2 separate regions of the Homo sapiens genome follow, and region 2 is linked to region 1. Evidence: promoter capture Hi-C in 16 types of primary human blood cells and fetal thymus (Javierre and others, 2016). All regions are on one chromosome and are shown on one strand. Each heading gives the region's core, a stretch centred on a gene start or on the middle of the fragment in contact. The rest is flanking DNA. Distances are from core to core; before and after follow the strand shown. Region 1 holds the start of ZMYM6 (zinc finger MYM-type containing 6). Region 2 overlaps ZMYM1 (zinc finger MYM-type containing 1).

What was found. Contacts are between HindIII fragments. The CHiCAGO score rates a contact against its expected background, and 5 or more counts as called.
Region 2: a contact is called between a fragment that was not itself captured here and the fragment with the promoter of ZMYM6 in region 1, in 3 of 17 cell types (M1 macrophages, endothelial precursors and megakaryocytes). The highest score is 6.4, in M1 macrophages.

The regions. Positions count from the first base shown.
Region 1 is chr1:35,028,539-35,034,261 of GRCh38, reverse strand. ZMYM6 (zinc finger MYM-type containing 6) reads left to right here and starts at 2,317. Exons shown (of 16, transcript NM_007167.4): 1 at 2,317-2,447; 2 at 3,549-3,715. The coding sequence starts at 3,623. It overlaps LOC124903990 (a long non-coding RNA gene), which reads right to left and starts at 1,542. Exons shown (of 2, transcript XR_007065739.1): 1 at 1,105-1,542. RefSeq lists enhancers at 2,128-2,307, 1,964-2,488, 2,489-3,015 and a silencer at 2,478-2,597. The HindIII fragment of the contact is 24,078 bases long and covers 1-5,723 here.
Region 2 is chr1:35,112,134-35,118,059 of GRCh38, reverse strand. ZMYM1 (zinc finger MYM-type containing 1) reads right to left here. Exons shown (of 10, transcript NM_024772.5): 10 at 2,201-5,083. The coding sequence ends at 2,801. Among named protein-coding and RNA genes, the nearest start is that of ZMYM1, 36 kb to the right of the region's middle. The HindIII fragment of the contact is 210 bases long and covers 2,917-3,126 here.

The DNA of each region.
Region 1 (5,723 bases), core at 1,068-3,567:
TTTAATTTATAAATCAGGCACAGAAAGAGACTAACAACTAACAATAGAACAATTATAACAATAGACTTTAATGAAAGTTGTTTAAAACTTATGAATTATTTGTTACTGGAATTTTCCATTTAATATTTTCAGACCGTGGTTGAGTGTGGGTAACTACGACTTCAGAAAGCAAAACCGTGGATGAGGGGGGCTAGTGTATATTCAAAAAAGACTTATCTTAGTGTATTCCTGATTGCCAAAAGAAAATGCCACAGACTGTGTAATTTATAAATAGTAGAAATTTATTTCTCACAGTTCTGGAGGTTGGCAAGTCCAAGATCAAGGCACTGGCAGATTTGTTGTCTTGGAATTACTCTCTAATTCCAAGATGAAACTTTGTTGTTGTCCTCTTGCTGGGAGGAACATTGTTATCATACAGTGAGGGGTTAAAAGGGCAAAAGGAATGAATCTTTGTGAAGGGCATGAATGCCCTCTTTTGTAAGGGCATGAATCCCATTCATGAGGATGGAGTCCTCATAGCCTAACCCCTCCCAAAGGCTCCACTTCTTATACCATCGCCTTAATGTTTAAGTTCCAATATATGAATTTTGAAGGGACACATACATTCAAACCATAGCAGGATTCATATCTAAAATATATGCCCATAAGAAAATGTCAATCCAATACAAAAATGAGCAAGAGACTTGAACAGGCACTTATGGGGGATATCCAGATACCCAAGGAACAAGAAAATGGGCTCATCCTCATTAATAATCTGGGAAATGCAAATTAAAACCACAGTGAGATACCACTATGCCCCCATCAGAATGGTTATAATTAAAAAGATATGCAGCAGTAATTATTGGCAAGGATGTTGGGAAACTGAAACTCTCATACATGGCTGAAGGGAGTATAAACTGAAACCACCATTTTCTAAAATTGCCTGAGATTATCTACCTAAATTTTACATATACATAACAAGCAATTTCACTTTTAGGTATGAACCCAACAGAAATGTGTGCATATGTATCACTGTTAAATAAAACTTGTAGGCCATTGTTTCGGGCTAAGCTCCTGCAGTAGGTCTCAATGAACCAGACTAAAAATCAAAATGGAGTCACTCACACTGAGGTTCCATGTCATCAAATGGAAACTACGTTGTTATTTGAAGTTCTGAAAAGTCAGGAAAAAGAGATAATAAGAGTCTAATTTCCCCTGAGTGCCAGTTTCAATTAGCATAATAATGAAATTTCTTCTGCTTTAATCGTTACCAAAAAAAGATAAACTGAAGTTACCTGATGTTAACCAATCAGTTATTTCTCTATTGTTTTGTTTCTTGGTTCTGCTTTACAAGGAAATTAACTTATTTATTTATTTTTTGGAAAGTTACTTTGAAATGAACCAATCTGTTTTTTGTTCTTTACTTCTGCTTTCTCCAGCCCTTCTCTGTCTATAAAACCTACCTCTTCTGCTCAGCTCATTGGAACACTTGTTCTATTTTATGGAATGAAGTGCTGCCAGATTCTAGAATCACAAATAAAGCTAATTGAGATATTTAAATTAAATTTGTTGTAATTTTGTCTTTTAACATCACCAATGACAAGAATGTTCACAGAAGCATTATTCCTAATAGCCACAAATTGGAAACAACTCAAATGTCCATCAGTAGTAGATGATTAAAATTGTATCATATTCATAAAATAGAATACTATACAGCAGTCAAAATGAATGAACAGTCACAAATCATACACGTATCTGTGAAACAATGTTGAATTAAAAAAACCAAATCTCAATTTTGAGCAAGTTTTTTCATTTATATCTCAAGAGATTAAAAAATTATACCTCTTAGGGTTAAATGGTGAGGATTAAGTGGGATGGTGCATGTGAAGTGCTCAGCAAGCCAAGTATTATTTAATATCATGCTCTCTCAGTAGGCCACCTTTCAGGAAATGGGCACTAAAGGATGCTACAGATTAGCTAGGTGTGGTGGCACGTGCCTGTAAGCCCAGCTACTCGGGAGGCTGAGGCAGGAGAATCGCTTCAACCCAGGAGGCGGAGGTTGCAGTTAGCCGAGATTGTGCCACTGCACCCCAGCCTGGGCAACACAGTGATACTCTGTCTCCAAAAAAAAAAAAAAAAAAAAAAAAAAAAAAAAAAAAAAAAAAGAATGCTATAGAGCACTTACAGCGCCTTCTAACGCCATCTCCACCTTTTCACTATTGAGCCTCGGTCTCTTTAAGAAGTGAACCATAATTGAGGAAAGAGGAATGCTGGGAAGTTCTACTCAGCTCAGGTCCGGAGCCTGACGGGAAAAGAGGGCGGAGACCAAGGCTGCGCAGGCGTGGTTGGCCGGTCGTTGCGTTGGGATGGATCAGGCGGAATTCCAGAAGAGAAAATAATCCCTGTCTAGATGCAGAGGACTTGGTTCCTATTCCAGTGCTCCTCCGGTAGCAGGGAGGCGACAGAAGGTGGGTGCGGCCGCAGTGGTAGTGGGCGGGACGGCGGGGCGGAGGCCACACCACGTGACGAGGCGTTGCGGCGGGGGCGGTGCCAGGTGGGCTACGCGGCTGGGGCGGCTGCGGATATCGCCTTAGGGACGCGTTGACATTCACTGGCTAGTCCACCGCTCTCAGTCGGAGACCACATTGCCTCGTTAGTCCTCAATGATGGGAGTGGGAATTCTTGGTGGGAAGGAGAATTTCGGAAAGCGTGCGGTTCTCAGAGGAGGGATGAGCGCCCGTAGATATTTTGTGGCGAGTGCGCAAAAGTTCTCATTTCTTCTTTGGAACAGGCTTTTCAACCAGTTGTCCGTTTCCATCCCGGACTATTCGGATAAAGACAACTTTGAAGAGCTTTTTGTTTTAGGTTTAATTCGTCCCGTTTAGTTCTTTGACTTTTAGGGGAAGGGAATTTACTGAATGGCCAATTGAGTTTCTTTTCTACAGGAAGGCGATTGTGAAGCGGGGCTCTGAGGGGCTTGATGCCCCCCACCCCTCACACGGAGACCTTGAAAGAGGCAGGTGACTCACTTTCAGTAAGGGCGTTCCTGTTGTTCGCCTGCGATGGATGGCATCTTGAGCTCACATCTAGCGTTAGGCCGAGAAATGGGGCCCTTAGGGAGGCTTCCAGTGAAGGTTGAGTTATAGGTCAGGGCCGGGAGGTTGTTGTGCCCCTCTTTGAGAAATAAAAGCCGACGTGGGCCTCTAAGTACTGATTCTTATGGGGTCAGAAACTATTTCTTGAGTCCGTTCTTCTCAGAGTTTATTACTTCCTCCCACGTCTTGGTCTGCTGGTCTAATTCCCTTCAATAACCTTCAACATAGGAAAAAACCAGAGTGTGTTGTGTGTCTTTAAAGATATTAGAGAAGTGGGAGCTGTTGCCCCAAAACTGTTTTCTTATGTAGCTACTGAAGGAACAGAAAGCAGGAAGAAAGAAAAAAGTTAGTTGTGGCCCCAGAAGAGTTGTTTTTCAAATGCCGAGCCGTGAAGCCTCATGCACTCAACACAAAGTTTTTCTTTCATATAGATAAGCCTGAAGAAAAAAGAATAAGCCTGAGTATGTATTTTAGGTGTCCAACTATCCATTACCAAGAAGAAATCTATTCGTTTGAGCCTGAGACACTCTTTGAGGTAAAAAATTAGAATGAAAGAACCTTTGGATGGTGAATGTGGCAAAGCAGTGGTACCACAGCAGGAGCTTCTGGACAAAATTAAAGAAGAACCAGACAATGCTCAAGTAAGCATTTCATCTTCATTTAAAAATTTAAAAAAATTCCTTCTTTTCCATCTGGTCAACTGAAAAATTTTAGTTAAACGGCTTCTGGTTTGTAAGTTTAAAATAACCCAAACTGAGACAGGCTCTCGCTGTCGCTGAGGGTGTAGTGCAGTGGTGCGATCTCCTTAGCTCACTGCAGCCTCCACCTCCCAGGCTCAAGTGATCTTCCCACCTCAGCCTCCTGTGTAGCTGGGACCACAGGGCACACACCAACATGCTCAACTATTTTTTTGTATTTTTGGTAGAGACGGGGTTTGGCCATGTTTCCCAGGCTGGTCTCAAACTCCTGAGCTCAAGCAATCCACCCACCTTGGCCTCCCAAAGTTCTGGGATTACAGGCATGAGCCACCATTCCTGGCTGGTTTTTTGCTCTTTGAATGAAAGCTATAACTACATGATTTTTTTGTGTGTGGAAGGAAAGTAATATATTTACCATTTTTCCATACTTGTCACTTAAAAAAAATTCTCTTGTATCTGGTAGTACTTTCCTTTATTCTGTTAAGAATTTGTGGTCTGTGCTAGTCTCTGGGGATCCAGGATTGAGCAAAGTCAGCTTAGTCCCTTCCCTTGTAGAGCTTATATGTTAGTAGAGGAGGCAGAGATTACAAAAGTATTGGTCAAGTAATATATATAATTACAAACTATGACAAGTACTCTGGAAGAAAAGCCTAAAATGGGGAATCTGACCTAGTTTTGGTTGTGGTCTGCCTGGGGATGGCTAGGGAAGGCCTCTCTAAGGGAAGGATGTGTAAGCTGAATTATGAAGAATGAATTGATTAGGCAAAGGGTATGGAGAAGAGTATTACAGACAGAGGGAACTGTGAATAGGAAAGCCCTGAGTTGGAAAGATGCATGGTTCTTTTTAAGACCTGCAGGAACAGTGAGCCTGGAACAGAAAAGGTATGAAAATGGTGATGATGATAATGATTAAAACAACAACAATAAAAATAGCTGGCATTAGTATATCAGTATGTAGTATATATTATATCATAATCATATGTGACATTATTAACTTAATATTTATATATGCTTAAGAGTGTGTCAGGCACCATTCTTACCACCATATTATTATCCCCATTTTACAGATGAGGAAACCAAAGCTCAAAAAAGCCAAATAGTTTACCACAGATCACAGTTAGTAGTAAATGACAAAGACTGGATTCAAATCCAGGTGGTCAGACTCCAGAACTTGTGCTATTCTGCTTCTCTATGATAAGGCTGTATATATAGTTTAAGGCTGGATTATGTAGGACGTAGCAGACCTTGTTATAAATTTTGGTTTTTATCCTAAGAGCAGTAGATAGCCATTATAGGGTTTTTTGTTTTTGTTTTGAGATGGAGTTTTGCTGCAATGTTGTAATCTTGGTGGCTCACTGCAACTTTCACATCCCGGGTTCAAGTGATTCTCCTGCCTCAGCCTCCCCAGTAGCTGGGATTATAGGCGCCTGCCACCACGCCTGGCTAATTTTTTGTATTTTTAGTAGAGACGGGGTTTCACCATGTTGGCTAGGCTGGTTTCAAACTCCTGACCTCAGGTGATCCACCCACCTCAGCCTCCCAAAGTGCTAGGATTACAGGCGTGAGCCACCACACCTGGCCAATTGTAGGGTTTTAAGTGAGAAAGTAAGATGAAACAGATTTGTGTTTGGAAAGATCATTCTGGCTACCCCATAGGGACCCAGAATGGAGAGCACGGAAATCAATGTGGAGGCTGGGCACAGTGGCTCACGTCTGTAATCCTAGCACTTTGGGAGGCCAAGGCAGGCAGATCACGAGGTCAGGAGATCGAGACCATCCTGGCTAACACGGTGAAACCCCGTCTCTACAAAAAATACAAAAAATTAGCTGGGCGTGGTGGTGGGCGCCTGTAGTCCCAGCTACTTGGGAGGCTGAGGCAGGAGAATGGCGTGAACCCAGGAGGCGGAGCTTGCAGTGAGCCAAGATTGCGCCACTGCACTCTAGCCTGGGT
Region 2 (5,926 bases), core at 1,772-4,271, 83 kb before region 1:
CACCATGTTGGCCAGGCTGGTCTTGAATTCTTGACCTTGTGATCCGCCTGCCTTAGCCTCCCAAAGTGTTGGGATTATAGGCGTGAGCTACCGTCCCCAGCCTATTTTCTCTCTTTTTTGAAACGGAGTTTCTCTCTTGTTGCCCAGACTAGAGTGCAATTGCACGATCTCAGCTCACTGCAACCACAGCCTTTGGGGTTCAAGCTATTCTCCCGTCTCAGCCTCCCGAGTAGCTGGTATTACAGGCATGTGCCACCACGCCCGGCTAATTTTATAGTTTTAGTAGAGACGGGGTTTCTCCATGTTAGTCAGGCTGGTCTTGAACTCCCGACCTCAAGTGATCTGCCCGCCTCGGCCTCCCAAAGTACTGTGATTACAAGTGTGAGCCACTGCGCCAGGCCTGTTTTCTCTTTTTTAAGGTGGAAATCAATAAATTAGGGCCGGGCATGGTGGCTTATGCCTGTAATCCCAGCACTTTGGGAGGCCAAGGTGGGTGGATCACCTGAGGTCAGGAGTTCGAGACCAGCCTGGCCAACATGGTGAAACCCCATCTCTACTAAAAATACAAAAAAATGAGCCAGGCGTGGTGGTGGGCACCTGTAATCCCATATACTTGGGAAGCTGAGGCAGGAGAATCACTTGAACCCGCGAGGTGGAGGTTGCAGTGAGCCAATATCACGCCACCGTACACTCCAGCCTGGGCAACAGAGCGAGACTCCGTCTTAAAAAATGAAAGAAAGAAAGTAAAACAGGTATATAGAAGATACTGAGAATATTTTCTACAACTCTAGGCAAATGCATTTGAAAGAAAGCCTCAATGAAATAGATGTTCTCCTAGAAAAAGTACAAGTTATCAAAATTGATGAGAGGGTAAGGGAGAAACAGCTGGAGAAAAGTGCCAGAGAAATAGTCTTTAAAAAAAAAAAAAAGGCCGGGCGCGGTGGCTCACGCCTGTAATCCCAGCACTTTGGGAGGCCGAGGCGGGCGGATCACGAGGTCAGGAGATCGAGACCACGGTGAAACCCCGTCTCTACTAAAAATACAAAAAATTAGCCGGGCACAGTGGCGGGCGCCTGTAGTCCCAGCTACTCGGGAGGCTGAGGCAGGAGAATGGCGTGAACCCGGAAGGCGGAGCTTGCAGTGAGCGGAGATCGCGCCACAGCACTCCCGCCTGGGCGACAGAGCGAGACTCCGTCTCAAAAAAAAAAAAAAAAAAAAAAAAAATTCCAGGCCTAGATATATATACCACTTAATTCTTTCAAATCTTTGAATATCACATTTTCTTTGTTATTTAAACTTTTCTGGCTGGGCGTGGTGGCTTATGCCATAATCCCAGCACTTTGGGAGGCCCAGGTGGGCGTATTACCTGACGTCAGGAGTTCAAGACCAGCCTGGCTAACATGGTGAAACCCCATCTCTACTAAAAATACAAAAATTAGCCAGGCGTGGTGGCGTGCGCCTGTCATCCCAGCTACTTGGGAGGCTGAGGCAGGACAATCACTTGAACCTGGGAGGCGGAGGTTGCAGTGAGCCGAGATCATACCATTGCACTCCAGTCTGGGCAACAAGAGCAAAACTCCATCTCAAAACAAAAACAAAACTTTTTTGAAGTATAAAGAAATAGTCTTTTCTTTGCAGGTTACTTAAATATAGTTATATTTTCATAACATGGCTTAATAATTTATTGTGCCATCCAGCTGAGATGTATAAATCAAAACCACAGCAGTGATTTTAACGTTTAAACAGGACAGTCTACAAAAAAGGAAATACAAATGGCTCAAACAAATAAACAGATACCTAACTTCATTCTTGTTTGTTTTAAAGAGATAAGGTCTCACTCTGTTGCCTAGACTCTGGAGCATAGTGGTGCAATCATGGCTCACTGCAGCCTCAAATTTCTGGGCTTAAGCAATCCTCCTGCCTCAGCCTCCCAAGTAGCTGGGACTTCGGGTGTGCAGTACCACACTTCACTAATTTAAAAAAAAAAAAATTGTAGTGATGAGGTCTTACTATGTTGCCAACCTCATCTTGAACTCGTGGCCTCAAGCGATCTTCCTTCCTGTGTAGGCCCTCAAAGGGCTGAGATTATAGGTGTGAACCACCACGCCCAGTCCCCAACCTTATTCTTAAGTGAATATACAAAATTCTACTGAGATTAAAACGCCATTTTTAAAGTAAGAGATTAGGAAAGATCAAAACATTTGATAACACTTACAAAGATTTAATAGGCACTCTCATGCATTGTGGGTGGGACTGTAAACTGGCACAATCCTTATAGATGGCAACTTGCCAATATCTATCAAAAGTAAAAATGCACATATCTTAACCTAGTAATTCTAACTTTAGATTTCCAGCTTACAGTAAACTCACTCATGTGCAATGTGACCTATATAAAAGGTTATAAAATGAATCATTATTTATAATAGCAAAAGGTTAGGAAAAAAATGTCAGCAGGGACTGCTCAAATATATTATGGTACATTCATACAATAACATCTGCAATTATAGACCAAGAATCAAGAAACTCTTCATGTAACGACATGGGACAATCTCAAAAATATGTTACACAGAGAAGACAAGCTGAAGAACAGTATACACCGTACAATACCACTTAGGAAAAATACCTCTAGAGGGATATTTAAGGAAAAGATAACACTTTTTGGGAAGAGAAAATGAGTTCTAAAGGAGGGAAGGAGACTTCACTGTTTATCGTTCTGTGTCTTTTGAATTTTGAACAATTTTGAAATGAAAACATCCCAATGGAAATACAAGTCTTTTAGGTAAGTTCAAATGAGCATGTATTATATTTCTTTCATCTGACTGATAAACTTTTCCACAATTTCATTGAGTCTTTCAGGCTCCATTAGTTTATTTACCAACTCCTGCTCAACAGCCATTAGGGCTGGGCCAGTAAGCTTCTCTTGTCCCATGGTATTACATAAATATGTCTTAAGACGAGGCAGGGTAGAAAATGAGTTCTCAGTACTTGCTGAAGTAATTGGCCAAGACAAAGCAATATATAATAGCTTTGAGAGACAAGGAATATTACTGTGAAGACCATGCTGAATAAACAAACAGCCGAGACTGACGAAGTTTATGCAACTATCATCTATGACAAAGTTAAGCTTTGCATAATGTCGATAAAATCTAAGTTCTGGGATAATGTCCTCATCAAGTTTATAAAATTCCTGAACATGTTTTGCTGTTGTTTCATTTAATGGTTCATTCCATTTAAATAACAGTTCTGAAATTTGCTTTATTTTGCAATAATCAAACTCCGAAAAACATAACTTTAAATTTTGTAATATAGTATCTAATCCTTGGTAATAGATATTAATTTTATATTGTTCTTCTGTTGAAGTAGGAAAAAACATATTATCTGAATTGCCAAGATCTACTGATTTCTGAATTTTTCTTCTTTTCTGAAGAGAAGGTTTTTCAACTTTAAAACCTTTACAGGTTATTTTTTGACATATTTCCTCTGTTCCATCCCAGATTGTTTTAAAGTATACGTCATTTCTTTCAGATGATAAACATTCCAAAATTGCTTCTATTTTTGAAGACAAAGAAAAAATGTCTATGGTTTTATTTTGAAGCTCTTTGGAAAGAATTCCTGTAACACTCAGCACTCGATACAGGAATTTCAAACAAAAGACAAATTCAAATTTGGAAACCAATGTCAGCAAATGACTCAATTCATCGGCGAAACTTGTATTTGAAGAATGGCTTGCTATAACTTCCAATGTTTCAATAATCTCTGGAAGACTGTCAATCACAGATAGTAATGTACGATCATGGACTGTCCAACATGATTGTGATATATGTTTCTTGCATGTTTTGTTTTGACTTAGCCTATAAATGTTTCGAAAATTTGCCAACATTTCCCCAGACATACAAATAGTGTTGAACAAAGAACTGAGAGTTTTTAGAGCACTTCGGAGTTCTTTTACTTCTTTACAAAACCTAATTATTGATAAATCCAAAAAGTGTGCATAACAATGTATGTATAAAGCTCTTGGTTCTTCTTTCTTGAATTCTGCTGCTATTTTATTAAATTTTATCTTCAAATTAGTGGTGCTATCATAGGCCTGGCCATGTATTTTATCCATATCAACTCCAATTTGCTGCAGATAAGTTTTGATAGTCCTATGTAAGTGGGTCCCAGTCATCTCCTCAGTATCAACAAAACCCAAGAATCTTTCCTTAATTAAGATAGCCTTTGATGATTTTTGTGGGTATCTTACACAAATTGAAAGCTGTTCTTTCATGGCACTATTGATTGTCTCATCACATATGATTGAAAATGCTGAGGAGTCATTGATCTCATTCACAATATCCTGCAACATTTCAGTCTTTATTATTTCGATAATATCACTTTGAATTTGTGTACTGTTATAGAAGTCAACTTGTGAATTCATAAGTCGAAATGTTTCTTCTCCTTTATCTTTTGCTCTCATTTCTAACAATTCTAAAAAATTGCCTTTATTCACAGATGAAACTGACTGGTCGTTTCCTCTTAAGGGTAAACACTGCTTTCCAAGAAATAAAATATTTTCAATTATAAGCTTTAGGTACTTTTTATTTCCCTCAATCTGTTTCGAATGAATAGATAAATCGTCACTGACAGCTCCATCACAAAATTGGTATTCTCTCCAAAATTCCAATGACTTCAAATGCATTTCACTTTTTTCATGCTTTCTGAATTTTTCCAGGGTTTTTTTCCAATTAGAAGTTCCGTGGGTTGCAAATGACTCTCTTCCACAGCTAAAATATTTTTGGCAGAACAACTGGCATGAATAACAGAATGCCACATCTTTTTTACTGTTTTCCAAACACTCAAAATCTGCACAACAAGATTTTTTAATACTTCGTGATTTACCTTTAACTTTTTGTACTTTGGATGTACATTTTGGGTGACATAGTTCATCACTTATTTTCATAGATTTCATATTGTCTTTTTGTACTTCTGTACTGGAACCAATTGCATGCTGACTGAATACTGATGAAGATGGTGAAACGCTTGGCTGTTCCGTACTACTACTAGCAACAGCATTACTGGGTTCACTAGGTGAACTCTTAGAAAGCTTTGGGAGAAAATGAGAAAAGAACATTTAACAGTTTTCAAAAATTAATTAAAATATCAAATATATCTACTCTAATAACATAGTAAAATAAATGGCTGAGTTACAGTATGAGCTCCACTAGGGGGAAACGTTAACAATTACGTATAACTTATTTATTTGCAATCTAGATTCAGCATTAAATGTTTGAAGGACCTTTTGGTATGTAATTGTCATAAAAATAATTTTTATTGCTCAGATGACTCAAATTGTGTAGTATTTTTTTAAAAGAAGAACCCAGAGGAAAAAAATACTTCTGTTTAAACAATCTACAAACATACACACACACCCCATATATGAATACATAATACATAAAATATATATTAAATATATAAATATAATATATAATAAATATACATTATAATATATTTATATTATATACAATATATTATAATATATTTATATTATATATTTATATTTTTATATATTATAGTATATATTATATATATATATAAAAAATCTGGGCCAGGTGTGGTGGCTCATGCCTGTAATCCCAGCACTTTGGGAGGCCAAGGTGGGCGGATCACCTGAGGCCAGCAGTTCGAGACCAGGTTGGCCAACATGGTGAAACCCCTTCTCTACTAAAAATACAAAAATTAACTGGGCATGGTAGCAGGCGCTGGTAATCCCAGCTACTCAGGAGGCTGAGGCAGGAGAATCGCTTGAACCCAGGAGGCAAAGGTTGCAGTGAGCTGAGATCACGCCACTGCACTCCAGCTTGGGTGGCAGAGCGAGACTCTGTCTCAACAACAACAACAACAAAAATCTGCTTATTAAAAAAAGACAGTGGTAAAAAAAGTTAAAACT